2 separate regions of the Homo sapiens genome follow, and region 1 is linked to region 2. Evidence: promoter capture Hi-C in 16 types of primary human blood cells and fetal thymus (Javierre and others, 2016). All regions are on one chromosome and are shown on one strand. The core of a region is centred on a gene start or on the middle of the fragment in contact, and the rest is flanking DNA. Distances in the headings are between cores, read along the strand shown.

The links. The method cuts DNA at HindIII sites, captures the fragments that hold promoters and counts their contacts. A CHiCAGO score of 5 or more calls a contact.
Region 1: a fragment that was not itself captured here is called in contact with the fragment with the promoter of ADRB2 in region 2 in 4 of 17 cell types (megakaryocytes, neutrophils, monocytes and 1 more); the score reaches 6.8 in megakaryocytes.

The regions. Positions count from the first base shown.
Region 1 is chr5:149,038,577-149,045,474 of GRCh38, reverse strand. It overlaps SH3TC2 (SH3 domain and tetratricopeptide repeats 2), which reads left to right. Exons shown (of 17, transcript NM_024577.4): 4 at 837-942; 5 at 2,638-2,781; 6 at 3,858-4,059; 7 at 4,798-4,871. Among named protein-coding and RNA genes, the nearest start is that of MIR584, 20 kb to the left of the region's middle. The HindIII fragment of the contact is 9,447 bases long and covers 1-6,898 here.
Region 2 is chr5:148,822,344-148,828,985 of GRCh38, reverse strand. It overlaps ADRB2 (adrenoceptor beta 2), which reads right to left and starts at 2,375. Exons shown (of 1, transcript NM_000024.6): 1 at 363-2,375. The coding sequence starts at 2,154. The coding sequence ends at 913. RefSeq lists enhancers at 1,475-2,060, 2,917-3,076 and silencers at 2,107-2,246, 2,337-2,646. The HindIII fragment of the contact is 9,818 bases long and covers 1-6,642 here.

The sequences.
Region 1 (6,898 bases), core at 2,252-4,751, 220 kb before region 2:
ATTAAGAATGTGCACAAAGATTTAGCTATAAAGATGTTTATCACAGTACCATTTAGGATTTTAAAAAATGTAAAACAATCCAAACATGAAACCATAAGAAAATGATAATAATTCATTATGTTAATGCAACAATGGCACATGTAACCATTAAGAATGGTGTAAACTTTGTGATGACATAGAAGATGCTTTGCAAAATATTGCTTAGCAGCAAAAGAAGATTGCAAAATAATTTATGCAATGTGATTCTATATATGTGAAATAGTTATATGGAAACTTGTGTAGGAAAAAAGATGCAAATTTATTACATGAAGATGTTAACACTGATGATCTTTAGGAGTAGGGACTAGGGATGATTATTTTTGTGTGTTTTGGTTTTTCTGTTTTCAGCTTTGTATTAATAAAAATAATCATTAGACATAGACTCATAATCAAATTTGCTTTCAAGATGCCTTCTATGAATCAGCGTCCTTTATCCTCCCACATACACTTTTTTTTTTAAACACAAAAAGTAGCATTCTTTGCCCATAGTTCTATTCCCTGGCTTCTTTTGCTGCTGCCGCTGTATAGCAGTATTATATCTGGAGCCTATATCAGTACACAAAGAGCTTCTTTCTTCTTTTCTGTGGCTGCATAATACAATATTTCACTTTATGGATAAATTGTACTCCATTTTAACCAATCTCTTATTGATGAATATTTAAGTTGTTTCCATTTTTTGGTGACGTAAAAATCAATGCCATAATCAAGAAGTTCATACAGAGTATTTGGTCTATATAAGAGCTTGCTAATGGGACACTTCTGTCATCCCAGGCTGACTCATTGTTTCCTTTACGTAGGACCTCTCAGCAAGGTTGGTCAGTATCCAGTCTCAGAGGGCCCAGTTTCTCATCACCTTCAAGACCATGGAGGAAATCTGGAAGTTCTCCACCTACCTTAATTTAGGTATGGTACAAGGCAAGCAGGTGGAGGATGACCTCCTCCACAATTTAGCCAATTTGTAGGGCTTGACATGAAGGAATTGGCCTGGCTCTGGTAATTAAGAGAAATAGAGCCTTAAAAAAGATGGTTAACTTTTGAAATTTCACAAAGTGCCTCAAACTAAATCTAAGGCAAATATTAACTATTATTCTAAAATGCCGTATGAAGAAGTTTGCTTTTTTGTGTCCAGGGAGATCTTTTTTTATTAGATAACCAATCAATTGGAAAACAGTTATTGGTCATCTACTAAGTTCAAAGTACTGAAATAGATGTGAACTTGGTGCTAGTGTGTGTGTTTTAAACTATAGGGAACTAATCTTGAGTAAGATCGAAGTAGCTGCTCAACATAGTCAATAGCAAAGTTCCAGATGTTTTATTGCATGTATTTGGAAAAGAGTTAAAGAAAGAAATAGAGAAATTATCTGCTTATAGCAACCTAAGGCTGCAGCGTTTTCTAGAAGGTAAAGAAGGACATTGGGATGCAGCGTCAGTTCCACTGTGGTGGGAAATGGTTCACCTGCCTTCTCCAGACAGAACAACTTATAATGGGGAAGTTAAAGTGAAGCCAAACAAAACAACAGGCCACCTAATTTGATGGATGTTTTATATCTCCCAGAAAATGCTGGGCTCCATGCCGACATACACAAGGACAGATTTTGTGCAGGGGTGGAGGGTCAAGATGACTCATGACTGGAAAACATAAGGTGTATCTTCTCCTCTTATGGTCTGGAGATCTGATCTCCACACTACACATCTCCTTCCTGACCATCAGACATCCTCACTATTCAAACTGTGCTCCATAGACCGGCTCGTTGGCAGCACATAGAGTCTGTTAAAAAAAAAAAAAAAAAGGAGAAGCTCAACCCTATCTCAGACCTTTACTAAGCATTTGTAGTTTAATAAGATCCCCATGTGATTTGTGTGCACATTAAAATTCAAAAGTGCAATTATAGAAGATACATAAGGCCTAGATCAGCACAATGGACAGTCAGGATAGAAACAGACAGGCTTTTGCATCTTAGGAAACAGAAGAAGCCTCAAGAGAAGCAATACGAGTAGTTCATGTTTATAGCCATGTTTAAAATACTATATATAATTATTAGAGTTTTACAATTTACATAGTTTTTAGTCTGCTTTTACCAGAGAGATCTTCTGGGCATTGGAGGAGGGGCAGGGTCAGAGCTGGTGGGTGGAAGGAAATCCTGACTCCTGAAATTCACTGAGGGGGAGCCATGTAGAACCTCCTCAGCCACTGCATCATCAGGGACACAGTAGTTTGAACCTCAGGTCAGGAGAACTTTAAGGGGGCACTAGGAACCCCCATAGTCAACACTGTAAACTTGGAGACCTCCGTGGCTGTATTAGAAAAAGGCAGTTGGTTTTGGTCATCTCATTATGCATTTATGGAAACTCACAATATGTTGAAATGGTAAATAACATTTAGAAATGACTTGTATTTCCCAATAGATGTTGAGAAGACTCAACTCATTCTAGAAAATGTCTGGCTTTGCCTCTTATGTTGTTTTAATTCCAGTTAAATGGCAGGTTGGGGCTTGTGGTCTGGGAATCAAGCTCAGGAGGGAATTTTCTCACTCTCTTCTGTGCTCAGCTATGTCAGAAATCATTTTGTTCAGAAATCTTGTTGGCTTGACTTCTTAGGCTACGTATCCATGTGTCTAGAACATCTCCTCTTTGACCACAAGTACTGGCTCAACTGCATATTGGTGGAGGATACAGAGATCCAAGTGTCTGTAGATGATAAACACCTGGAAACAATATACCTGGGACTCCTGATACAGGAAGGTGAGTGTGGCATAGGGGTAGAGATGGGATCTTATTCAGATATTTGCTACCAGAGGCCATGAAATAAGCAGGATGCAAAGGGAGGGAAAAATCATTCAAACATGGAATATTCACAAATGAACCCACCTGTTATAATAGTACTTTGAACATTCCTCTGAGTTCAACACTGACATTACACGAACAGCTGTGCTGGTCAGTCTCACTGATTGATGTTAGAACTGCTTGGAGAGTTTTACTAAGATACCCAAGCCAGGGCTCCACTTAGGCCCATTAAATCTCTGAAGGTGAAGGCCCAAGTATTGGCATATTTTGGAAAGTTTTCCACATAAGTCTAATGTCTACCCAAAATCGAGAAACCCTTTTCCAAACGTGATAAAATTTGATTGTAAAATAAAGTTGCAAATGTTGCAAAACTTGAAGTTTTTTATGAAAGTGAGGAAAGTGATGTTGAGGAACCTCTTGGAGCACCTCTTGATCTGTTTATAGGTGAGAGTCCCATCAAGGTTATCATCTACCAATTAACAACTATGAGGTGGATAAGCCTGATGACATCACAGACACGTGGAAAGAGCCAGATTTGCATATGATATTTTTGCAAAAAGGACTCTTATGATTGCATTGCAGAAATATTGCATGAAGGAAAGAATTTAATATCATGCTATTATAAAACTTATTGGAGTAATTATATTCACCCAAACTAATTTAATCAATTCTTTTTTGGTTCTAATTTTAATCATGAGGTTGCAACAATAAATGAAATTCTATTAAATATAAATATATTTTCACAAGTTTTCATCTCTTTTTCAAGATAAAGTCCCAATTAAGCCTTTTTCTCATAGATTATTAGAAATGTTGGTGTCTGTTTTAACTGAATTCCCTCTCAATGGCTTTTTTCTTCCTGGTATCAGTGTTCCTGGGATCATAAGGCCTCTTTTAGTGTCTCCCCTGTGAAACGTCTACTTTACTTCCAGGAAGAAAAGTACTCCAGCTCTGAATAGAAGCATTACTTTGTGTGATAATCCGTTTTCACTTCCTGCTACTCCTTAGAAAGCCATTGCTTTTCTCATTATCCACAGGCCACTTCTTCTGCAGAGCCCTGTGCTCCGTGACTCCACCAGCCGAGAAGGAAGGGGAATGCTTGACACTTTGCAAGAATGAGTTAATCTCAGTGAAGATGGCAGAAGCTGGCTCCGAGTTGGAAGGCGTGTCTTTGGTGACAGGTCAGCGGGGCCTGGTACTGGTGTCAGCCTTGGAGCCTCTGCCTCTCCCTTTCCACCAGTGAGTAGCCATCTGCCTCCTGGGAGCAAGTCCCAGAGCAGACTGAGGTTTGCACAGAACAGAGTAGGCATGCTTTCAGATATGGGCATCCATAGTGTGGAGGAGAGAACAGATTCTGGGTGGGTCTTTATCTTTCTGTCTTTTTCTTTTCTTTTTTAACAACCAAGAATTTTAACAATCTGATGAAATTGGAGACAACTCTAAATTTCAGATGGGCATTGTACCTAGCAGCAAATATACCACACGACCGCCAATGTAGTGTTTCTCCATGTATGGACTGGGGACCACTTGTCTGGGCCTCCTTAGACTTTCTTGGGGTTGAGTCTAGGAATCTTCATTTTAAATAAACTTCCTAGGAGATGCTTTTCACACTAAAGTTTAAGAAATCCTGCTGGAAGATATGATTAAACTTAAATATACAGATTGACAGTAAACATTACCCCACACCATGGACCTGTGTGGCTCTGGCAGAGATCTGACAGTTCAAGTGTAAAGGGATTGTTTGTTAGTTATTTAACTGACAAACTACTTTCGGAGCCACAAAATATCCCAGGTCTACTAACTTCTCACCTTTTCACAGGTCCTGGTAGAAAGTAAGTTCTCAATAAACTTTTGCCATCATTTAAATAAGAGAAAAAACAATACTCATCATCATCATCATTATTCTGATAGACTGTTCTGTTCATTGTTGCAATTTTTTGAAATCTGTGTTTGCAAACCCCATGTTTTCATTGGCAGGTGGTTCCTAAAGAATTATCCAGGAAGCTGTGGCCTTTCCAGGAAGAGGGATTGGACAGGCTCCTATCAGATTGGTATGGCTGAGTCAAAAACATAGTATTGTTAGGGAGATAATGTTGTCCTGCCTCTCAATTTTATCTGCAGGTTTGGAGTCAGTTGATGTGAATTTTTGTCTCGTCTCTGCTAGGAACTGGATTTAGGGAAGCCAGTTTCTGTCTGTGCACATGGTTTTCCCTGCCTGTGAAATGAGAGGTCTCAATCCAGGGGGCAGCTACAAATGCCTGCAGGTGTGGGCAGGACACACAGATGCTAGGGGGCCTGGATGGAAGGTATTAGGGAATGGCAGGAATAATTAGGGATTTTAAGATATATGAGTGAAAAAACAGGGCCAAATTAAATGTTTCGTGAGCCAAATGCGGCCTGTGGGCTGCCTGTTTCAATCTCTGGTCAAAACATTTTCTAATTTCCCTTAGAGTTTTGTAAAATTAACTTTGAATTTAGGAAGAGTAGAAATGCCTGGCACATAAGGGTACTCAGTAAAAATTTGTTGAATAAATGAATTATATACACACACACACACAATTTAAGTAATCTGTATGTGTGTATACACACATATCTGTAAGTACTGTAGATCCATATCTACTGGATAATGAAGTCCAACACTTTTTAGACATCTAGAAATACCTTCTGTTCATCTTCATCTTTAGAACTCCCCTTCACCTCCCTCCCACACACTCCTACCACAAAGTACAATTTTATAAGTGCTGAGCCCAAATAACACAAAAAAAGAAATAGGATTATGGAACCCAGACATCAGATCTAATAAATTACTGATGACAAACAAGATTTTTAGCTTCCTAAAGCAGTACAGCCTTGTAGTTAGAACGCAAGGCTTTGAAGTCTATTCTGGTTCAAATTCTGGCTCCTTGACTTAAAACCAGTGTGATCTTGGCCAATCCACCTGCCCTATGTTGCAACTTCCTCATTAGTAAAATGATACAATAAAACCAACTTAAATGTTGTTATGAGAACCAAACAAAATGACATCCATAAATCACTTTGCACAGTTTCTCTTACAATGTAGATATTTAACACATGGTAGATCCCATCGACCCACAAAATAGTGAGAATTTCTGATCTTGAAAACACAATCTAGAAACTTGACCAAAAATGTCAGAAAAAATAGGCTAGTAGCTTTAGCAGAGAAGCTAAAGCAAATATGGAAACTGAGGCACATAAAAGCCTTTATCTCCACCAGGATTAATGGAGAGGCTAACCAGCAGCCTGAAGACTTAAGCTCTAGACTCAGTTTTGCCATGCATAAGATCCTTAGACAAATCTCATACCCTCTCTCTCCCTCCGTAACCTGGGAAAAGGGGATTCTGATAGTTTCCGTGCCCTTTGAAGCTCTTGAGAAGACCTGAGAAAGTGAGTGCAAATTGTACTTTGTAAACTGGACAGAAAAACATTCATCAAAAGGTCATTGCTAGATCCTAGGTAGGCAATTTATCAGATTGAGTACCATAGTCTGAAAGGGAGTCTTTTAGATCCTTCTAAGTCATTAGCAGCTTTCTATTCCACCAGTGGTAATAAGGCTAATGTTTATTGAGGGTTGACCAGGTACCAGGCATTGTGCACTGTATCTCTTTGATTCTCTTTAATATTTATAAGCAGCAGGTATTCCTATTATCCCCATTTTCCAGTTGGGGAGACTGAGGGTCATAGAGGCCAAAGGAGCTGGAAGGACATGGAGAGCTTCTCTGGTCGAGTGGTTCTCACACACTGGTCTGTGGATTTGTGCCAACCATGACAAAGCATTTACATTACAGTGGCAAAATCAGACAAACCAGGACAATACAGTGAGCTTTCCAGTTTCCCATAAGCTATGTTTATTCATTTTTAAGGCATATCCGCTATCTGAGAATCTTTTTTTGTGTTTGTTAAAACATTTTTTCTTTGGTGAAAGTGGATTGTAGTTCTTTTAAAAATATGTCCTAGTTTGGCAAAATGAAAAGCAAATTGTCCTGTGTCATTCCTGCCAATTTTTGGGTGGGGAGGGGAGTGAAATGTTACTGGTCCTTGACATTCTAAAGTCTGGGAA
Region 2 (6,642 bases), core at 1,126-3,625:
GAAACAAGTAGAACTGGAAGGTGGGTGGTGGGTGCACGTGGAGAGAAAAAAACATATCCCCTTAACTCCGCTTCTGTGAGTCAGTGTTTCTGAGGTAACAACACAGAACAATAACCATAGGGAGAGTTGAGCTATACTAAGAGCAGGCAGAACTGATTTGGGGCACAAGTGTCAGGAGAGATGCAGCTTTGCAGCAGCAGACTCAAAGGCAAATGAAAGGGTTAAGCAATCTGTGCATGTCATTCTTGTATCATTCTACATTAAGTCATGGGCAGTAATTACAAGTAGTTACCTGCGGTTTCCAGTGGGGGAGGCAACAGCACTCCAGTCAAGGGGTTTTGGAGAAACAGGTGCAATGAAGGCATGGTCAAACAATTTATTTACTGTAAACTTTAGACTTTGCTCGGGAAAACAACTGAAGCTGCTCCTCAAATCCCTGCCTAAAATACCCCGTGTGAGCAAATAAGAGGAGTGGGGGAAGAGTCCATGTTCACAGCTGAAAGGTCCGAGATACTCAAAATCCTCAAGTCCAAGGGTGTAGGAAGGAAAATCTCCTTCAGATACAAATTACCAGCAGCAATATATTACCCCTAATACTTGAATAGTGAGGTAGATACATGGAAAAGTCATGAAAATATAGCAGACTCAGGTCCTCTAGGACTAAAGCTCTTTAGACATAAACTTACAAATTCCATGCAAAGAGGAACTGAACTGTACAAATAACAAATAATCACTCAAATAAGTTTTCTCTCTTTTTACAGCTTAAAAAAATAAAAAAGGCAGAAGGATGCCCTTCCTTCTGCATATCTCTATACAATTTTACAATTTTATTCTAAGTTTATTACCCTCAAGTTAAATAGTCTGTTTAGTGTTCTGTTGGGGGGGGGGGTCTTTAAAAGTAGAAAAACTGCTTTACAGCAGTGAGTCATTTGTACTACAATTCCTCCCTTGTGAATCAATGTTATCGCTAGGCACAGTACCTTGATGGCCCACAAAGTCTTCCGTGCCTGGGAGGTCTTCACACAGCAGTTTATTTTCTTTCTCCTGTTCCACGTGATATCCACTCTGCTCCCCTGTGTTGCCGTTGCTGGAGTAGCCATTCCCATAGGCCTTCAAAGAAGACCTGCGCAGGCACAGAAGCTCCTGGAAGGCAATCCTGAAATCTGGGCTCCGGCAGTAGATAAGGGGATTGAAACCAGAATTGACATAGCCTATCCAATTTAGGAGGATGTAAACTTCCTTACGGATGAGGTTATCCTGGATCACATGCACAATGTTAACGATGAAGAAGGGCAGCCAGCAGAGGGTGAAAGTGCCCATGATGATGCCTAACGTCTTGAGGGCTTTGTGCTCCTTCAAGCAGAACTTGGAAGATCTGCGGAGTCCATGCCCCGTCCGCCCATCCTGCTCCACCTGGCTAAGGTTCTGGACATGGAAGCGGCCCTCAGATTTGTCAATCTTCTGGAGCTGCCTTTTGGCCTCCTGAAAGACCCTGGAGTAGACGAAGACCATGATCACCAGGGGAACGTAGAAGGACACGATGGAAGAGGCAATGGCATAGGCTTGGTTCGTGAAGAAGTCACAGCAGGTCTCATTGGCATAGCAGTTGATGGCTTCCTGGTGGGTGGCCCGGTACCAGTGCATCTGAATGGGCAAGAAGGAGGTAAGGCCTGACACAATCCACACCATCAGAATGATCACCCGGGCCTTATTCTTGGTCAGCAGGCTCTGGTACTTGAAAGGTGAAGTAATGGCAAAGTAGCGATCCACTGCGATCACGCACAGGGTCTCAATGCTGGCCGTGACGCACAGCACATCAATGGAAGTCCAAAACTCGCACCAGAAGTTGCCAAAAGTCCACATTTTCATAAGAATATGGGCGGCCCCAAAGGGCACCACTGCCAGGCCCATGACCAGATCAGCACAGGCCAGTGAAGTGATGAAGTAGTTGGTGACCGTCTGCAGACGCTCGAACTTGGCAATGGCTGTGATGACCAGCACATTGCCAAACACGATGGCCAGGACGATGAGAGACATGACGATGCCCATGCCCACCACCCACACCTCGTCCCTTTCCTGCGTGACGTCGTGGTCCGGCGCATGGCTTCCATTGGGTGCCAGCAAGAAGGCGCTGCCGTTCCCGGGTTGCCCCATGGCGCGCAGTCTGGCAGGTGAGCGCACTGGCTGGGGGCGCCTCAGCGGGCGGACCCACGGCGGGGCTCTGCGGGCCGCGAGCGGACGCCTGGAAGCCTCATTCAGCGGCTGTGGTGTGGGTGTGGTGGGGACTCGTCCTGCACACTCAGCTTGTCGGGTGCTAGGGGCTCGCGGTGCCTGCCAGTTCCAGCCCGTGCTCTGAAGAAGCCGCTTCGCAGTGCGTTCTGCCCGTTATGTGCACAGGACTTTAGGGGAACTGCCCTCGCCGTGACGTACGGGAACTTTCGGCCAATGGCACGCCGGCAGCCGCGAAGGGGCGAGGCACTCCTCCCCTTTCCCTCCCCTCCCCTCGCCCTCCTTCTCCTGGGGCTGGCCCGGGCGGGGCCCAACTGCTCCCTGGAGGGCGGGCCACCACTGCTTCCCGGCTACCCTGGCTGGCCCCAGAGGGCTAAAGCTGGAGGTGGTGTCCTTACCAGCCAACCCGGGAGCTTTTGGCTCTTCTGTGGCCGCTACCTGCCTGCCCTGGGCGCCTGCGCGGCTTGAGGTCTCAAGGCAGAGGGCAGCACACCGGCACTGCCCCACATTCGGAAGGAAACGAGAGTGCCCACCGAGGCACGCACATACAGGCACAAATACACCCTGGCAGACATGCTCAGACTTATACCGAACCACAGCCATAGACACTGAGACACACCCTCCCAGCTCACCGACATGCACACTCGCGCGCGCTCTCACACAGAAGCCATCCGGCACAAAGTCACCCCTGTCCAACACAGAAACGCGGCCAGAAACAAACACAGAAGCACCCAGAAGCACAAAGACATGGTGACACACACAGAAAGTAAACACACGCTGGCTTGGAGGCATCCAGAGCGACACAGACACGGATGTCTCCATCTGGGTACTCCGAACTTGCCTCACCCGAGCACTGATAATGCTCCCCTCCCAACATACACCCGGTAACCCAGTGTATTCCCTTTCAAACATTTGGCAAGAGCACAGGAGGTGACTTCAACAGCTGCTGATTTCCTCAGCACACTCGCTGTCAAGTACTTTAGGTGCCCTCCTTAGGAATTTGCAGGCATGAAGACAGTTTTACCCTTTGGATTTTATCTGGAGCGGGGGTATGCAAGTATGTATTTTGGGACAGAGAGAGAAAGTTGTGTGCTTTTGTTTTAATTTTTTTGTTGTTTTGTTTTTAACTCTTGAGAGTGTGGCATCACTCACTCATTATCTGTTGAACTGGAGATGCAATGAGAATTCAAACAATTTCTTCAGTAAACCCAATGAAACTAAAAAAAATCCTTTCATCTGCTGGATAGTTTGTTAATCTTTCGGGTTGTGCCATGTGAAATTGCCACCATCTGGCGTCTGTGACTTACCAAAATGGCAAATTCATATGGTTCAGAGTATTAAGAATGTCTTAACATTAAGAACATTTTGAAGCTATAGAAAGCAAAAGATCCTGGCCAATATGGTGTAACTCTTGTCTCTACTAAAAATACAAAAATTAGCCAGGTGTGGTGGCACGTACCTGTAGTCCCAGCTACTCGGGAGGCTGAGACAGGAGAATCTCTTGAACCCGGGAGGTGAAGGTTGCAGTGAGCCGAGATCACGTCACTGCGCTCCAGCCTGGGTGACAGAACAAGACTCCATCTCAAAACAAAACAAAACAAAAAACACAAGATAATTCTCCCTTAAGAAAAAGAAAAAAGTAAGACCAAATCTCAAAAGTAAGATCTTTGTTCATGAAATACTATCCTTTCCATCTGGCATGTGACTTTACTGCTAAAGTGAAATTAATTTTCAGGGTTTGATTTCCCATGTATTAGTGGTGTCTTTGAAAAACTGAAAGTATTTCATGAAGTGTAACTAAACGTACTTTGTAGATTACATAATAACATAACAATGGTTAACATTTATGGACCATTCTGCTATTTGCTTTTCATGCATTATTCTATTTAATCCTTCCCACAGTCCCATGGGGGTGGGGACTATTTTTAGCTTAATTCACAAATGAGGTTCAAAGAGGAAAATGGCTTGCCCAGGGGCAATGGCTGGGCAGTGCCAGAATCTGGATTTGACCCAGGTCTGCCTGAGTCCAAGACCCATCTTTTAATCTTTTCAATGTATTGCATAATTACATGCAGACAGGAGTGATGGATAGGGAGGAAGGGCTACAACTGGAACTGGAATACCCAGGTTCCAGATTCACCAAACTTGGAGCTTTCTAGTTCATTTTTTTTTTTTTTAAGAGAAATCACGAAGTACCTGATTTCCATTGTCTCTAAAGGGGCATAAAGTCACTTCCATTGGGGTAAGCAAGAATTGAATGATATAGTAAGAAATATGAAAATGCTTTTGCTCATATAAGTGTCACACAAGTGTAGTTTGTAAGCGAAGTTTACATAAATTACTTAGTGGTTTAGAATATGTTGTTAGTCTTCTCTACTAGAACAATAAAATACTTTAGGGCAAAAGTAAGTTGGGTGTTTACTCTGGAAGCAAAGCTCAGAAACAGAATTTAACCTACATATCCCCTTTAACATCCTTCATAGCAGAAACTGACTTTTTGCAAGACAGATGCCTTAGAAAACAAGTATTTCCCATAAAATCCACAAATATGAATTAAAGATCTATTATATTCACATAGTTTTCAAAATACACTCACCTCATATTTGTGTTTTCCAAAATTGGCTGTGGCATGATGCATTTTAGGAAGAGGCAGTATTTATTATGCAACAACGTTTCTTTAAATATGCATCTACTCAAATTGTGGAACTAAACCATTTAAAACCTCCTTCCTGTTTGTGAAGCTATGGCATAAATAAGCATATTGTTTAACCTTCCTATAATAAGAAAAGAACAAAGAAAACCCCTTTAAGACAAATATTAACTGATCATGTATTTAGATATACACGTAAGTCACTTAAAAGTTTAACTGAATATTTTGGGAAACTCCTTTTTTAAAACCCACAAATACTAAATCAAGAAGGACTGGCTAGCCATATGCAGAAAACTGAAACTGGACCCCTTCCTTACACCTTATACAAGAATTAACTCAAGATGAATTAAAGACTTAAACGTAAGACCTAAAACCATAAAAACCCTAGAAGAAAATCTAGGCAATAACATCCAGGACATAGGCATGGGCAAAGACTTCATGACTAAAACATCAAAAGCAATGGCAACAAAAGCCAAAATTGACAAATGGGATCTAATTAAACTAAAGAGTTTCTGCACAGCAAAATAAACTATCATCAGGGTGAACAGGCAACCTACAGAAAGGGGGAAAAATTTTGCAATCTATCCATCTGACAAAGGGCTAATATCCAGAATCTACAAAGAACTTAAACAAATTTACAAGAAAAAACAAACAGCCCCATGAAAAAGTGGGCAAAGGATATGAACAGACACTTCTCAAAAGAAGACATTAATGCAGCCAACAAACATATGAAGAAAAGATCATCAGCACTGGTTATTAGTGAAATGCAAATCAAAACCACAATGAAATACCATCTCACACCAGATACAATGGCGATCATTAACACATCAGGAAACAGACCGGGCGCAGTGGCTCATGCCTGTAATCCTAGCACTTTGGGAGGCTGAGGTGGGTGGATCACCTGAGGTCAGGACTTCGAGAGCAGCCTGACCAACATGGTGAAACTTCGTCTCTAATAAAAATACAAAAATTAGCCAGAAGTTGTGGCATGCCTGTAGTCTGACCTACTCTGGGGGCTGAAACAGGAGAATCGCTTGAACCTGGGAGGTGGAGGTTGCAGTGAGCCGAGATTGTGCCACTGCACTCCATCCGGGGTGACACAGTGAGACTCCGTCTCAAAAAAAAAACAGGAAGTCAGGAAACAACAGATGCTGGAAAGGATGTGGAGAAATAGGAACACTTTTACACTGTTGGTAGGAATGTAAATTAGTTCAAACATTGTGGAAGACAGTGTGGCAATCCCTCAAGGATCTAGAACAAGAAATACCATTTGACCCAGCAATCCCATTACCTGGTATATACCCTAAGGATTATAAATCATTCTACTATAAAGACACATGGACATGTATGTTTATTGCAGCACTGTTCACAATAGCAAAGACTTGGAACCAACCCAAATGCCCATCAAGAATAGACTTGATAAAGAAAATGTGGCACATATACACCATGGAATACTGTGCAGCCATAAAAAAGGATGACTTCATGTCTTTTGCAGGGGCATGGATGAAGCTGGAAACCATCATTCTCAGCAAACTAACACAGGAACAGAAAACCAAACACCTCATGTTCTCACTCATAAGTGGGAGTTGAACAATGAGAACACATGGACACAGGGAGAGGAACATCATACACCAGGGCCTGTTTGGGGGTGGGGGCCTAGGGGAGGGATAGCATTAGGAGAAATACTTAAAGTAGATGACAGGTTGATGGGTGCAGCAAACCACCATGGCACATGTATACCTATGTAACAGACCTGCACGTTC